Linked DNA regions of Homo sapiens: region 1 is linked to region 2. Evidence: promoter capture Hi-C in 16 types of primary human blood cells and fetal thymus (Javierre and others, 2016). All regions are on one chromosome and are shown on one strand. The core of a region is centred on a gene start or on the middle of the fragment in contact, and the rest is flanking DNA. Distances in the headings are between cores, read along the strand shown.

Region 1 (2,953 bases), core at 87-2,586, 130 kb after region 2:
AACCACCTTGGTAGGAAATTATATGCACTAAAAAAATAAACAATCTGTTCAATAGGAAGCCCATCTAAGCCTGCAGAGTAATATGAGAATACAAAGGAATATAAGCATTTCAGAATTTCTAGTAGTTTTTCACAGAATTATGGAAATCAAGGGCTGGAAAGAAACGGAAGACTTTAAATCTAACTTGATCCTTTCAAATATATACTGGTAGGATTTAAAAAGTCCTTGGATACATAAAATCTACCTTGGCCCAGCCAGTTACAAAGCTACTTCCTTCTTGCTCTTTACTTCTGTTGCTTTCTGCATTGTTGCACTGAGAAAACATGAGGCTAGGCACAGTGGCTCATGCCTGTAATTCCTGCACTTTGGGAGGCCAAGGCAGGCAGACTGCTTGAGCTAAGGAGTTCAAGACCAGCCTGGGCAACATGGCAAAACCCCATCTCTACAAAAAATACAGAAATTGCCAGATGTGGCAGCACACGCCTGTAGTCCCAGCTACTTGGGAGGCTGAGGTGGGAGGATTGCTTGAGCCCAGGAGACACAAGTTGCAGTGAGCTGAGATGGTGCCACTGCACTCCAGCCCGGGTAACAGGAATGAAATCTGTCTCAAAAAAAAAAATAAAAGAGGAAAGAAAAAAAACCACAAGCTTCATTTTAAAGTCAACATATTCAGGTCTCGCTATTAAAATATAATAAAAACTTTCCATAAAACAAGCAATAAAAAGAAAGCTAAAAAATTAGAAGACTTCTTTTCTTTAAAAATTCAATATAAGATTTTCATTACTAGTCTTTATGTCTTTTGGCTCCATGTTCATTTTCAAAATTGATATAAACTAATTCCTTTAAGAAAATCTTTTTAATTAGTCATAGTCATGATAAAATGACACAGCAATATTATATTTACAATCATTAATGGGACCTACAGATTGACAATTTTTGTCATTGCTGTACTATTCTGAAGTGTATATATATATATATATACACTAACACAAAAGCTGCTGTAATATTTCTAATTTAGATTGCAAAGACAGTGACAAGTCATCATATCTGAAGAGGAGTTTTATACCATTCCTTTGGACTCTGAGCTCTCGGCGGCAGCTACCCCAGTCTACAGTGCTAGCTCTGCATCTGGCACAGAGGAGGTGCTCAGAAGTGCTCAAATCAACTCTGTGTCCTTGGTGGTTCTCCCAGGTGGCCTTGGGAAGCCACCCACCCCAGAAGAATATGGACCCAATGGGTAATGTTTCTGTCATCTCTGACAATGTTATTAGTTTTCTAGGGTGCTTGTTTGTTTGTTTTTGTTTTCTGAGACATGGTCTTGCTTTCTTGCCCAGGCTGGAGTGCAGTGGCGCATTCCATAGCTCACCGTAACCTCAAACTCCTAAGCTCAAGGGATCCTCCCGCCTCAGCCTCCAGAGCAGCTAGCACTACAGGTGCACGCCATCATGCCTGGCTAATTTTCCTGTAGAGATGGAGTCTCACTGTGTTGCCCAGGCTGCTCTCAAACTTCTGGCCTCAAATGATCCTCTCGCCTCAGCCTCTCAAAGTGCTGGGATTACAGGCTTGAGCCACTGTGCTGGCTTGTTGTTTTTTAAAAAATACATTATCTTTTAAGGAGTTCAAGTTCACAAGAGATTAGCACAGAATGTGGTATATGCCAAAAGTAAAAACTTTAACCCTCTTCTAGGAAGAGTAAGTTATTAATAATGAAAAAATCTGTATTCTGAAATCCCGCTTTCTTGGGTTTACCTGAAAGCATTCTTCAACAACACCAGGCCCTCCCCTGACTATATTCTGGGTCAAAGTTCTTTAAGAATTCTAGAGACACACTGAATATGACAAGCAGAGAACTCCGTACCTGGTTGGGCTGAGGTATACGCTGTTGCTGGTTTTCACTGGGTTTCACTGGAATTGGTTTGATGAGATTTGGATTGTCATAGATGGCAGAGGAACTGGTTATCTTTTTTGGCTCAGAACAGGTTTTACACTGAAATAGAAAAGAAAATCCCCTCATTTTTGGCTTAGAAAAGCTTTAGTCTTTTTAAAAGACTACCTTTTTACTTCTTATCTAATTGGTAGACGGCTGTGTTTTTGATAGATTTTCATGCACAAAGGAAAATCCCTTAAATTTCTCTAAGAGCTATGTTTGAGTATAAATCAAGTTAAAATTTAATTTTTCTTAGTTGGACAATTCAGTGCTCTAAATATTACTAACAACACCAGCCTCCAGGACCAGGGGTTCTTAAGACACCTGTATAATTGAAAGGTTCTGTGCTTAATATATTGACTATACGTTTAAATATATATAGTCTAATGTCTTTCAATGATAAACAAATATAGAAACCATTCCTTAAATAACATGTCTGGACAATTTAAGCAGTTGACTTAAAATTGGAGAGTAGTTGAGTACATTTCATCAAAGTAACTAAATCTTTTTTGGTCTACAAACCAAAAAGCTGACTCAAACCACTGATTTAAAAATTACTAACATCATCTTTATTTAATAAATGACTTCTTGCATAAACAGAGTAATTCAAATCTGAGCGTTCTGAGCTACTTACTACAAATTAGAATTTTGTAGAGAAAGAGACAAGAGACAAATCTCATCATTTCCAACACTGACTCATTATTATACATTAATCTAACCAACCATGCAATTGCTAACACAGTAGGATTCATAACAAAAAGAGCATGGCAATGATACTGGTGTCTAGTTTGCTAAAACACTAAATAAAACAATATAAAATGCTGCTTTCTGTACTACAGACTCTCTGAAGCATCATTTGTTTCCACTGTACAGCCAAGGCCTCAGGCCCCAAAATATTCCACACCTGACATGAAATGAAATATAAACACAATCTTGTCCCTCAGGAACCCAGCATTCCCAATGTGTTTTACAGTTATCAATGTGTATTCTCTAATCCAACGATCTGGGGGTGTGGCATCTATTACC
Region 2 (3,007 bases), core at 308-2,807:
AAAAAAAAAAGGAAAGGAGATGAAGCAGACCACAGAAAGCTCCTGCACAACATGAGGGTGGCCCAAAGAGAATGCCAGAGATCGGAGGAGGAGCAGGGCCAGTCCTGTGGTGTTCCGGGGAAACGTCACCTTGCAGGGGGCGTTTAAGGAAGGGGGAAGCCACCCATGGGCAGGAGAGCATTTCAGGCCCAGGGAAGAACACGCTTTCATGGAGATGGAGAAGCAGGAAGTATGTTTATGGGGAGGTGGGAGCCTCTTTTGCTTGACAGTGGGATGTGTGGGAGGCACCAGCATGAGAGGTCAGAGGCGGGACTCCCCAGAGGTAAAAGACACTGCAGCTCAAGCCTTGTGCTGCCCGGGGACCCGGCAGAACGGACAGAAGGGAGTGAGCAGGAGCATCCTTCTAGGGGCATCCTGAGTCCAGGGGGTTCTTCTACACCCACCCCAGTCCTGGCTGTGAACCCCTCCAGCAAAGCAGGCAAAATGGAAGAGGGACATAGGACACGGTGATATATCGCTAGCACGGTGCTTCATCTGTCTACAGGCAGTGGACGCAAAGGAAGGGGGATTTAGGGTTCGTGCTCCAGGCTGGTGGGGCCCTGGCTCCCCTCTAGCTTGGTCCCTGACTCACTTGGCCTTCAGATCAGCCACTTCCCATCTCTTAGGATATCAATTTTTCTGACTTGCTTTGTCCTGATTGGTTAAGAAAGAGGCCTCCAAGTTCTTGAATGACAGTCTCTTCCCTTCGCATGCCTGACCCATCACAGATAAGAGCAAGGAGCCCTGAGAAGCCAAGCTCGTCCCTGGCACTGAGAACGGTCTGCAGGCTGCTGCTGCAGGCTGCCCTGTGCCCAAACTCCCAGCCTGCCAACTCTGGCATTCTGCTTCCCTAAGTAGTCCTGGCGTCGGGTGGTCAGACCCTGAGGCTCAGTGACCTCTGCATGACCATGTGATCCCTGGCTTTGTGGGGGCTCAGGGCCCTTTCCTGTAGGGTCATCTGGCACATGGACATGCCTGTGTACCCTTCTTTCGTATGACCGAGAGAAGGGTTCGGTTTTTCCTTCTCTCAGGCAGGATGGGAGACTCTGCCTCGCATGTCTCTAAAACAGGAGAAAGACCAGCTTCCCAGGGGGGCCTCCATCGGAACAGAAGTCAGCCGCTTGCTCTGTGTCTGCGCCTGTCCCTCTTTCCCCAGATGGAGGGGAAGAGAGGAGAGAGGCACAGAAGACAGGTGCAGCCGGGGGGGTGAGGGAGAGCCTGGAGGCGCAGGATGGAAGATGGAGGTGGTGGTGAAACCGCTTTCCTCCTCCCTGTGGTCGGCAGCGATTCATCCACAGGCGCCTTTTTCCACTGAAATGTGAGCGTGGCCAGGGTGAGCGCTGCCCTCGCGGCCGGCCGTGGTGCCTCTGGTGTGCGCCTGTGTGTGCTGCTGCCGCTGTCATCACAGATGCACCCCAGCTGTCACTCCCCGCTCCACTCTGGCTCGCTGCTCGCGCACACGCGTGCGCTCTCCTCCCTCGCCCCTTTCTTCCCTCTCTCCTCTCTCTCTCTCCCTCCATCCCTCTCTTTCCTTCTCAGTTTGTGACTGACCCAGCAGCCCCGTCCCCCGTCTGCCACAAGCAGTCCACCTCCTGGTGCTGTGTGCTGCGTGCCAGCCGCTGCTCCCGCTGAGTGGAGACTCTGGCACCAGTGCCCACTGCGCTCTGCCTGCCGGTGGTGTCTGGATTTCTATAGGAATCCCAGGAGGGTCTTACTGGAGGGTTGAGAGCCACCTGATTGAAGGCGTTTGCAGTCAGAGTAAAGACGGGTGAGTACCGAGTGGCTGGTAGGAAGGAATGGAGGGTTGGTGGGGACAGGGGGTGGTCGGGGCATGGGAAGTGGGCACCGGCCATCTCTGCCCTGCAGGAATAGCTGCAGTTGCTTCCTACCTGCAGGCAATTGCTGGGGCCGAAGAAGCTGCTCGGGCTCAGGCACCTGAGCATCCCAAAGGTGCACGACACTGGGAACTCTGAGCCCACAGTGCTGGGGACAAGAGCTGTGGATTCTGCTGGGAAGTGGGGAGGAGGGCAGCGCTGGCGCCAGATGACAGTCCCGGGTGGCATAGAAACCGGTCCCTGCAGCATGGGAGAAGCAGCCAAGAGCCTTGTGCTGTCGTTGTGCCCGGCTCTGCACAGACAGCCCCAAGAAACTCGGGGGTCATGGGAAGCGGTTGGGATGGCAGTCAGGTGCTGGGGACAGGGCCAGGTCAGAGGAAGGCTTGGGGTGGAGGGTGGCAGGGAGGAGGTCCTGGATGTCAGAGGCATGGGCACAGACCCAGGTCCTGGGCCTCCCTATAGCTTGCCTGCAGGTGGCTGTCCTTGGACAAGGGTGTGGAGGAACCCTCCCCCAGATGAGCATGGGCCCACTCAGCTGTGCATGAAGCCTCCCTGGTGAGGGTGAGGCTGGGAGTGGGCAGGAGAGAGAAGTATCGCAGCCCTTCCCTGCTAGCCCAAGGGCAAGACAGGAGAACCAGGCCCGCGAGAACCTGCTGGGGTGTCCCGCAGCTGTGCACCCAGCCGTCCATCTGCAAATGGGTCAGGGAGCCTTAGTGGGGGCTGGACACTGAGCTTGGGTGGGGGGTACACAGCGGGGCCAGGCCTGCCTGGCTTCTTGACCCACACAGGGGGCATGGACACCCTGAGTAGAGCGGGACAGTTGCTCTCAATCCCCCAGACCCATTTGGACAGTGCTGGAGAGAGGAGCAGCCTGACCAGGAGTCGGAAGTTCACATTCCTGCACCTCCCTGCAGGTCTGGGGCTGGGTTCCAGTTGGCGGCCCTGTCTCTCCCCCACCCCCAAGCTGTCCACATTTCTGGGGGGTGTTGGCACCCGGCTGTCAGGGCTACTTGGGCAGTGTCTCTTTGTGACTCAGATGACACCCCTGCAGCTTAGATAACTGCCTCAGGTGGGGGCGGGGAGGGAGCCGAGCACGTGGAGCTGAGGCGGGGGAAGTCCAGCTGGTAGGGAAA

What was found. The method cuts DNA at HindIII sites, captures the fragments that hold promoters and counts their contacts. A CHiCAGO score of 5 or more calls a contact.
Region 1: a contact is called between a fragment that was not itself captured here and the fragment with the promoter of LRTM2 in region 2, in 2 of 17 cell types (naive CD8 T cells and naive CD4 T cells). The highest score is 5.4, in naive CD8 T cells.

What each region holds. Positions count from the first base shown.
Region 1 is chr12:1,953,574-1,956,526 of GRCh38, forward strand. DCP1B (decapping mRNA 1B) reads right to left here. Exons shown (of 9, transcript NM_152640.5): 6 at 1,859-1,987. Among named protein-coding and RNA genes, the nearest start is that of LINC00940, 18 kb to the left of the region's middle. RefSeq lists an enhancer at 484-1,683. The HindIII fragment of the contact is 1,383 bases long and covers 646-2,028 here.
Region 2 is chr12:1,819,008-1,822,014 of GRCh38, forward strand. It overlaps LRTM2 (leucine rich repeat transmembrane protein 2), which reads left to right and starts at 1,558. Exons shown (of 5, transcript NM_001039029.3): 1 at 1,558-1,807. The region is part of intron 26 of CACNA2D4 (calcium voltage-gated channel auxiliary subunit alpha2delta 4); the gene reads right to left. RefSeq lists an enhancer at 1,128-1,874. The HindIII fragment of the contact is 5,864 bases long and covers 1-3,007 here.